Linked DNA regions of Homo sapiens: region 2 is linked to region 1. Evidence: promoter capture Hi-C in 16 types of primary human blood cells and fetal thymus (Javierre and others, 2016). All regions are on one chromosome and are shown on one strand. The core of a region is centred on a gene start or on the middle of the fragment in contact, and the rest is flanking DNA. Distances in the headings are between cores, read along the strand shown.

Region 1 (4,986 bases), core at 1,358-3,857:
AGCCCAGACAGGCAGAAAGCCTGAGCCTGTGGAGGGAGAAGGGCAGATGGCAAACTTCGGAGGGCTCAAAGAGTGGGGCGGGAGCTGGGGGAGGAAGCAGCCACTTCCTTCTCCTTGGGGGTGTTTGGCTAGGATGGGAAGGAGAGGATGTGGTGTCTAGAATAGGGGGAGAGTTGAGCATATTGGGGAGACAGAGAGACAGGAGTGACTAAAGCATTGAGAGGCAAAAATAAATAAATAAATAAATAATAAAGTAAAGGGTCCAGGGGTTAGGGGCCTGAAGATCTGGTGTCTGATGTTTGCAGAGCCCAACCCTGGAAGAATGCCAGGCACCTGGCGAGGAAGCCATGGTCTCTTCCTTCCTTGACTTAGAACAACTAGGAGGCTCCTAGGTTCAGTCTTACTGGGAAGGGGATGGGAATGTGGGCCAAAGGACAGGGCAGAGGCTGATCTAAATACGTGGGCCAGCTCCACTGAGGAAACTGAGATGGACCAGTGTGGCGTGGAAGAAACCAAGGGGAGCAGCCAAATGTCCTCTTCTCCAGGCTGCCTGGCACAGAGCTGGGCACACAACCAACCCTGCAGACCAGCTGTCCAATGGGCAAGGGAAGGAGCAAGGCAGGTCCATCTGCAGTCTCGGCTGCTGGGAAGGTGAGACAGTGCAGGGCATTGGAGGCTGACTCCACAGTGGACAGAGAAGACTTTCAGGGAGATCAGCTCAGCTCAGTCTGAGGGGCAGGGACAGGAGGAGATAGCGTTTCTGCGGTTATCAGGAAGGGAAGTGGAGGAGGCAGCCAGGAAGATATCGGGAAGAAAGAGGAAGGGCGTGTGCTAGATCCCGAAGAGGAAAAAGCAGCTGAATTTAGCAGCCTCAGGGGTGTGAAGGTCAAAAGTATCAAGGAATCTTAAGCCCAGGGTTCTGGGCCAAGAAAGCAGGACTCTCTCTCATTTACATGGGCATCTGAGATGAAACCTGGTGTCCGGGGACTTCTACCAACCTAGGATTCGTGGGGGAGGGCAGTGGGACTGGTTCAGAACCTGGCTCCCCTGTTTACTAGATGTCTGACCTTGGGAGAATTACTTTGCCTCTCCGTACTTCATTATCTCCATCTATAAAATGGGGAGAACACCACCTTATAGGGTTGCTCTAAAGATTAGACAAGGCCAAGTGTTCAGAACAATACTGGCATATACAAAGAGCTCCAAAATTTTATTTTTCAGTTACTTTGCTCCAGTGGTGGGTGAATGCAGAGGGCCTGGCTGGGGAAGAGGGTCTCTGCCTCTCTGGGTTTAGACCAGGACAGCAGAGCTGCAATACTCCCCCTGCCCTAGATCAGGGACATTGCAAAGACTGGGGGGACAGGCTGGACAGCTGCTCAGAGACTGCAGCAAGCAGGGCTTGGTCGCCCTGGGAGAGCAGGCAGAAGGTCAAGGAAGTTGTACAGGGAATGCCACCTCCCTGCACACCATCATCTATCCTGGGCTTTCCAGGGCAACCTAGATTTCAAACCCTCTGCTCCCTGGTGCCCCTGTGAACAGCAGAACTCACCACCCTGTGCCCCTAAAGTCCACTCACTGCAAATGCAGGGCCCCATTCTGAGACTGCATTCCTAGCAAATGACTCTCCCTGGTCAAGGAGACGGCTACTCTAACAAGGGCATGGGGAATACACGTCTGGGAAAGAATGGGTGCTCACCCTGTTCAGGCAGAGGAAAAGCCGGGGAAGGTGAAAGACCAGGGGTGGCCACAACCCGCAATCTTGAGACAGTGTTGGGGTATGGAGGTGGGGGCTGGGTGGCAGTAAATGGTACTCCAGAATTTAATTAAACACAGCTTCCTCTTTAATATCTCCCAGGACCAGGCCCTTCACTGCACCAGCCAGAGTTCTGCTCTAACTAGCAATGCTGGGCTTAAAGGGGTGGTCCTGGGATCGCCCTCCCTGCTGAGACCCTCACAACTGCTGCGGCTGTCAATGGCCCGATTCCTCACTGCCCGGAGGGCACCGGCCAAGGCCCTTCTTCCTAACCTCTGGGCGGGCGCACCCCGCCCCAGGCCCTGCCAGGGAAAAAGCGAACTCCCCAAGGGACGTGGTGGGAGGGACCCAAAGGCAGCCTTCCAGGGAGCCCTGGGGGTGGGGAAGACGCCAGGAAGGGGAGAGGGCGGCGCCGATTGACAAGCCCATCCCGGGTAGGGTCTGCGCTCTTCTCGTTCAATAAAATCCAAACGGGGTCCCGAGGCTGCTCGGATCCCGTGGGACACGCCGCCCCTGTGCCCAGCTCCCAGCAAGGTCCTCGACTCGGGCTGAACGGCGCTGGAGGGGACCTCGCAGGGCTGGGTCTCCCGGGCCTTTCCCTCCCCGCGCCCATAGCGGGTCCGGGCAGAGGGGTCCCGAGGGCAGGGCCGGCCCGGACGCGGCGCCCCAAACGGCGGGCCGGGCAGAGCCCAGCGCCCCGCTCGCACCCAGCCCGCCCGGGCCCCCCACTCACCGGCCTGGCGGAGGCAGGATCCAGGCGTCGCCGCAGCGCCCGGGGCTCGGCCCGGCCCGGCCCGCCGGCAGGAGGCAGCTCCACGCCGCCGCCTCCTCCTCGGCCAGCCCGCTCGCGCCCCTCCCGCACACTTTCCACAGGAAATGATTAACTCGGGCCGCGGCGCGTTCCCATGGCAACCGGCTCCGACCCCGGCGGGGGGCGGCGGCGCGCGCCCGCACTCACGCGCACTGGCGCGCACGCGTCAGCCCGGGCGCGCCCCCGCAGGTCTCCCGCCGGCACTCCCACTCCCACTCCCACTCCTTCGCGGGGCCTCCCACTCGGTCTCTCCCGCCTCCCCGCGTCCCGCACTCGCACTGGCACACGTGCTCATGCGTTCCCTGAAGGCTCTCACAAAACAGGCCTGCACACGGGCTGGCACACACGAGGCAGCCCACACAGCCCCACACCTGGTGAGCCATGCGTACTTTTGCACAGCCTCAAACCCGAGTGCAAAACTTCCACGCGAGTACTCACACATACACTTCTCACGCGGGCTCTCATACCAGTACGTGTCTTCCCATCCCAACACACACACAAGCTCTTACTCACGAGACAATACATGTACATCCCTTACCGTGTCCTTGCACGCGCTGGCGCACATGCACTCACACTGTTTACAGCGCACACGCTCTCACTCGCTCCACCACCTACTCGCTGGCCAGGCCGCCTTCTAGCCACAGCACTTCCTACCTCTGCACCCCCAGCCCCACCCCAGCAAATGAATATCTTCCCAGCAAGGAAGCTGCCTGGAGTCCCTTAAGGTAAAACACACCAATGGTGCAGCAGTTCCCGGCCTTGCTGCAGAAGGCCCTGCTACTGGGGCACCTAGAGCCTCAGAAGAGGCCTGGGGGAGGCCAGGGGCCTGCCAGCCGGGAGAGACAGCTGACCTGGAGGAGCCACTCTGTTCTTTGTCTCCCAAACAGAGGCAGCATTTTATTCCAGAGCCAGCAGCAATATTCTCCCTCACTCTCCACACCCCCGGGTGCGGAAGAGGAGAAAGCAAGTCACTCTGAAGCCAGCCCATGCAGGCTGACGGTTCTGCAGATAATCCCAGGAGGGCGGGTACTCTGTCCCTTCCTGCTTGTCAGGGGATGGCCCAAGAAGATCAAGGAGAGGACTGGAGGGGGTCGGGCAACTCCAGGTGGGTTCTATCTCCTGCTGCCGCCCAGGCGCTGGGCTGCCAGTCAAGAATCTCGACCAGCGACGGAGCCAAGGGCCTGGGCCTCAGATTGTTCTGGACGCCAGAGCAGGACAGTCACAGTCCCCCAGCTGGAAGCAGCCTAGTGCATGCTTTATTTGACAACTGAGATTCCTCAGTGAAGGCCTGATAGAGGGTGAATGTAACGCTCCTGGAATCATTCCCTAGAGAGTTAGATTTCCAGCTGAACACCACACTGGAGAACCCTTCCAATGGGAGAGAAAGCCTTATTTGGGGAGTTATGATCTCTGAATTCCTCTGCCTGCCCTCCAAACAGCAGTGATCCAGGGGACCGCAAGGGTGGATGAAGGCAAAATGTCTCTAGAATTCTGATTTAGTATCTATCTCCCTTGATTATAGTCCCTATGAGTTGATGGGGCGGGGGATGGGGAGGACAGAATGTCTTTAAAGTCCTGGTTCAAAACTGGAGACTTTTTCTTACTCAGGGATTGAGTACATTGACATTAACTGTAGGTCCTTCCCACCAAAGCCAAAGCCAGATTTTTAAATTAATAATAACATTTATTGTTCTTTTGCTTTGATTACAAAAGTAATAGATGTTCATTGTAACCATATCCCACACACTGGAGATAAATGCTGCCAACACTTTAGAAGTCTTTTTTTTTCCTGTGTACATAATAGATGCCATTATTGAAGCTAACACTGTGTCAGGCACAGCACTAAGCTCTTTATAAACAAAATCCCATTTAACCCTGAACACCCTATGAACACCAGTACTGTTTCAGGACACCCGTGTTTCAGGAAAGGAAACTGAGCCTCAGAAAGTTTGTTCACAAATGCAGTGTGTGATAGAGCTATGACTCCAATAGGTACTCACACAGTACTATCAGATGCATATGGGTATAACAACTTATTAAGATCAAAGCACCAGCGAAGGAAAAAGGAAATTGAAGTGTAAGGAGGTTGTATTTTTGGAATTCTAGCAAAACTCCGATTTGAAACGTAAAAACTACTTGTTTCATGGTTGTTGCATTTTTGAGACAAGATCTTGATCTGTTGCCCAGGCTGGAGTGCAGTGATGCAATCATAGCTCACTATAGCCCCGAACTCCTGGGATCAAGTGATCCTCCCACCTGAGCCTCCTGAGTAGCTGGGACTACAGGCACACACCAGTGTGCCTAGCTAATTTTTTTTTTTTTTAAGTAGAGATGGGGGTGTCTCACTATGTTGCCCAGGCTGGTCTCAAACTCCTGGGCTCAAGGGATCCTTCTACCTTGGCTTTCCAAAGTCCTGGGATTA
Region 2 (4,986 bases), core at 1,176-3,675, 220 kb before region 1:
TTCTTTCTCCTCCAGCTGAATCAGCTGGATCCCAGTGTCCTGGCTGTTTGGTGATTGGGCAAGATTGAATTTGCCCAGGTAGGCGTGAGAGTGTGGGTTTTAAATTCGAAGCTCAGGCCATAGTTTCAGAGAATCACCCTTACCCCAGACCTTCATGAGACAGTGCTCATGAAGCCAGTGCGTTTCCCAGAACGAACACTAGGCGGCACCGTTGGTCCACACTCAGAGGCCCTTGGCGCCAAGACTGCATCTAGAATCGCTCAAACACCTGTTTGCAGACCCCATGCACCAGCTGGAGGGGCCGTAACTGCAGGACTGCGCCTACTGAGTGACCCATTTCCTCCAGGAGGAAAGGCAAGACACGCTTACACGGCCATTTGTCTCTTTTCCCAATGCGGCGGTGCACTTTCGCTCTTGGGGGCTGCACCCCAGACATAGCTGGCACCAGAGCAGGGTGCTCAGGTGGTGGGTGCTCAGGGCCCTGCCCCAGGCCACTGGGCCGTTTTGATGACCTCGAAGGTCACAGGCAGAAAATAGGAGCAGGATTTCCCCTGGGGAAAAGTTCTCCTGGGACATCTTCTGCTCTTCTGTACATTTCTAGATGCAAATAACTCCTTCACCAGGCAGTGAGTGGCGTAGGCTCTGGAGCCAGGCTGCCTGGGCTCCAATGCCAGCTCTGCCACTTGCTAGCTGTGAGACTGTGGACAAACCACTCAGCCTCTGTGTGCCTCAGTTTTCCTATTTGTAAAATAGAGGCCATAGTGGTACCTATTTTGAAGACTAAGTAAAAGAATTCAAATAAAGAGACTTGGCACAGAGTAAGTGCTCAGTAAATGGTTACTGGTATTATCATTAGTATTTTTGCTATTATTGTTAACAGTGTTAACTGAGTTTCAGAGGCCAGCCTGTCTAAGCCCCAGGCCCAGCTCTGCTCAACCTTGTAGGCACAACCCCTTCTTAGGCACATCTCACCATGCCTCAGTTTCTTTCCCCAGACGGGTCTCTACTCCCACCTCGCTGACTTTCTGCTGTTCTAGGAATAGTCCCCACACAGTGCAGCCTCCAGGCCATGCCACATGTCCCCCGACCTCCCAGTTCCCCAATCTTCCGGTCTATAGAAATTCCTGGTGGTCATTTATCACATCTACAAAATTGCCCCAGCGGTGCCTAGAGAAGGCCTCTTTCCCACGCTAACTCCAGGCAGATTCTCCCCACCCCTGCCACCATCTGGGTGATGTGAGCACCCATCCAAGCTCCCATGGTTAAGCCCAGGCTCTCCAGGCCTTGGGGCAGGGGGTCCCCTTGCTAATGAGGGTCCCGAGGAATTATGGGAACCTTTAGCCCTTCTCTTGGGCAGCCCCAGGGAGTGGGGACACAGGCTCCTGCTGTGGCTGGGTCTGCATAGAGCCCCCCAGCCCAGGACCCAGCCTCTCAGACCCCACCAAGCCCAGGGCTTGCCCGAGGGAGGATGTGGCCACAGCGACACGGGAGGAGACTGGCAGTTCCAGGAAGCAGCCCCAAGCTTGTGGCCCTGAGCCCCACTGGGGTCCAGGCCCTGGGCAGGGACCACTTCCTGGAAATGTCTCACTGGGTGTGGGGGAGGGACTGAGGGAGATAGTGTGGAGCCAGGCAGGGCCCCTCTTCCCCCTTCCTCTCTCTCCCAGCAGAGCCCAGATGGGGCCCTGGGGCCAGCTCTTGGGAGCTTCCAGACTTAGCAGGAGGATGGAATGGGGTGGAGTCTGGGGGCTGTTGTTCAGGGCCAGGGACTCAGAGCAGGCACTTGGTGAACGGATGCCATGTAAATGTCAACAGGACCACAGATTAGGAGATTTCTGTGTGTGGTTTTGTTAGTGTTATTTCAGAAAAGGGTGTGTGCATGTGTGTGTATGGGGGGGCTATTGAAAATAGGGTTGCCAGATAAAATATCAGATGCCCAATTTGGGAGACGTACTAAAACATTATTCATTGTTTACCTGGATTCACATGTAGCAGGGTATCCTATTATTGATGTATTTTGATTTTGCTAAACCTGGAAGCTCTAATGAGAAGAGCATTGGCTCAGGAGTCCGGGGTGTGGACTCTTCACTCTCTAAATCCACCCAGGCTGTGCTGAGGGGGAAGCCCCTCTGCCCACTGGATGAGTCCCCCTCATTCACAGCCCACTCAGCTTGAGGTGTTCCTATTGCCAGCCAAAGCCACCACCAGAAATCCCAAGGGGTCTGCCTTGGGTGTCCCCACCCCTGCTGTCAGCCCTGGCGCAGACCTAGCCCCCATCCCCTGTAGAGGCGCCATGGACCTCCCTGCCTCCCCACTCCCAATTCCAAATTCACCCAGAAGCCAGAGGGTGTTTTCCATCCTGCAGCCTGCCCGTGTCCACCCCTGCGGAAGCCCTTCCACAGCACCCCCTCTTCATTGCCACACTCCCCAGTGGAACTTGAAAGGCCCACGGTCCGGCTTGTGTCCCCCTCTCCAGCCGTGTCTTACCACTCCTTCCCCCTCCTCCTCGGTGCTGCCACACTGAACAGCTTTCGGTTCCCTGAACAGGTTCTTTCTCATCTCTGGGCTGTTCTCTGTCTGGAAGGCTCTCCCTGTGTGTCTCATTTGTGGAGTGATGGCGACACATCCTTCAAATCTCAGCCTTGCACATCCTCATTCCCCTCAATGCAGACTTCAAATCTAGGGTGGGGCCTCCTTTCAGCCCCACCACTCCCGCCCTTCCCCCATGACAGACGTTATTTCTTTGTATTATGACTGTCCCCATCTGTCTCAGCTGCCAGACCGAGGGCATTTTGGAGACAGGTGCTGTGTCTCATTGGCTCATTCATTCACCCATCATGTAATTGTTAAACACTTGTTATATTCCAGGCACTGTACTAGTTGCTGAGGATATATAAATGAACAAGTCATCACATTCTTGTGGGGGAGGAATGTCTCACACTAAACAGTTTAACAAATAGACATAAGATATGACAGGTGGCGACAAGTGCTGAGAAGAAAAATTGAGGAGGGTGAGGGAGTAGAGTGGCCAAGAGCCTGGGTTTCAGCAGAGGGAGCTGGAGAATGAACCCAGGGGCGCTGGAGCTGGGGGCGTGGGAGAGTGTCAGAGAGCTGGCATGAACTGGCAGGTTGCCTGGAGGGGAGGGCTGGTTCCAAAGCCAGTCTTATAGCAATTTTTCCATTTCTTGATAGTGAACTTTGGAAGAGCTAGGGGTGGGGAAGATGGGAAGTTGAACCACCTCTGAGATAAAACTCTCTGAGGGGGCTGAGGTGGTCCTGGGTTGGGGTGCCCCCTGCTACTGGCAAGAGAGAAGCAAACTCAATATGGAGGTAAGCTTCCCTTGGTTAGGCCAGGAGGATGCCCAGAGTGAGACGAAGCAATGGGCTTCAATATAAAACTTACCCAAATCACAAAGTAAGCCACCGAGTGAGAGTCGGCAGAAAAGAAGGAAGCAACAGATTTTAGACCCCAGGGACGGAATACAGAATAGCCATATATGACACGTTTAAAGAAACACAAGATGCAATCGCAAAGATGAGCATATAAACGAATAGAAATGAAGAGAGACAGAGAGATTTGGGGGAAAACAAATGGAACTTCAAGAAATAAAAAGTATTATCTCAAGTTGGATGTGGTGGCTCATGCCTTTAATCCTAGTGACTCAAGAGGCTGAGGCGGGAGGATCACTTGAGGCCAGGAGTTTGAGACCACCCTGGGCAACATAGCAAGACCCCTGTCTCTATAAAAATCAAAAAAATTAGCCAGGCATGGTGGGGCACACCTGTAGTTCCAGCTACTTGGGAGGCTGAGGCGGGAGGATTGCTTGAGCCCAGGCGTTTGCGGCTGCAGTGAGCCGTAGTCACTCCACTGCACTCAAGCCTGAGTGGCAGAGCAAGACCTTGTCTCTACTAAAAAAAAAAACATAAAAAACTCTCAAAATCTAAAATTCAACAAACAAACAGTTGAATAGAGAATTAATTAGCCCAGCGTGGTGGCATGTGCCTGTAGTCCCAGCTACTCAGGAAGCTAAGGTGGGAGGATGGTTTGAGCCTGGGAGGCAGAGTTTGCAGTGAGCCGAGATTGCACCACTGCACCCCAGCCTGGGTGATAGGGCCAGGCCTTGTCTTAACAACAACAACAGAAAAAAAAAAAAAAGAGAGAGAGAGACAATTAATAAGCCTGGACTTATATACATAAAGCATGCAACAGAGATAAGAAGATGGATAACATGAAAAGAGATTAAGAGATATAGAGAATAAGAATGAGAAGATCTTATATATTGGAGTCCCAAAAGAAGAAAATAAAGGGAATGGGAAAGAGGTGGTATTTGAAGATGAAATGGCTGCAGGTTTTCCAGAAGCGATGGAAAAACACAGTCTCAGAACCAGGAAACACGAAATATCTCAAGCATAATACATAAATCCATGCTTATACACATTTTATTGAAACTACAGAATGTCAGAGGGAGAGAAACGATGAAAGCAGGCAAAGAGAAAGGACAGATTGCCTACCAACGACCACAGAACGTGAGCTGGCTCCTCAACCACCGTGACAGAAGCTAGGAGGCAGCAGTAATAGCTTTAAAGTGATGACAGCAAATAAATGTCCACTTAGAAGTGTGTCCAGCAGGGGCCAGGTGCTGTGGTTCACGCTTGTAATCCCAGCACTTTCGGAGGCCGAGGTGGGCAGATCACCTGAGGTCAAGAGTTTGAGACCAGCCTGGCCAACATGACGAAACCCCGTCTTTACTAAAAATACAAAATTAGCCAGGTGTGGTGGTGCACGCCTGTAATCCCAGCTACTTGGGAGGCTGAGGCAGGAGAATCGCTTGAACCTGGGAGGCAGAGGTTGCAGTGAGCCAAGATTGCGCCACTGCACTCCAGCCTGGGCGACAAGAGCAAAACTCCGTCTGAAAAAAAAAAAAAAAAAAAAAGAAGTGTCCAGCAAAACTGTTACTGGTGGAAGGTATCCGAGTTACCGTTGGTGAA

Evidence for each region. Contacts are between HindIII fragments. The CHiCAGO score rates a contact against its expected background, and 5 or more counts as called.
Region 2: a fragment that was not itself captured here is called in contact with the fragment with the promoter of KIFC3 in region 1 in 1 of 17 cell types (megakaryocytes); the score reaches 6.6 in megakaryocytes.

What each region holds. Positions count from the first base shown.
Region 1 is chr16:57,799,884-57,804,869 of GRCh38, forward strand. KIFC3 (kinesin family member C3) reads right to left here and starts at 2,608. Exons shown (of 20, transcript NM_001130100.2): 1 at 2,487-2,608. RefSeq lists enhancers at 1,551-2,227, 2,905-3,581. The HindIII fragment of the contact is 12,094 bases long and covers 1-4,986 here.
Region 2 is chr16:57,576,356-57,581,341 of GRCh38, forward strand. All of the region lies in intron 1 of LOC105371291 (a long non-coding RNA gene), which reads right to left. ADGRG5 (adhesion G protein-coupled receptor G5) reads left to right here. Exons shown (of 12, transcript NM_001304376.3): 12 at 1-834. Among named protein-coding and RNA genes, the nearest start is that of ADGRG5, 36 kb to the left of the region's middle. RefSeq lists a silencer at 80-149. The HindIII fragment of the contact is 1,810 bases long and covers 1,521-3,330 here.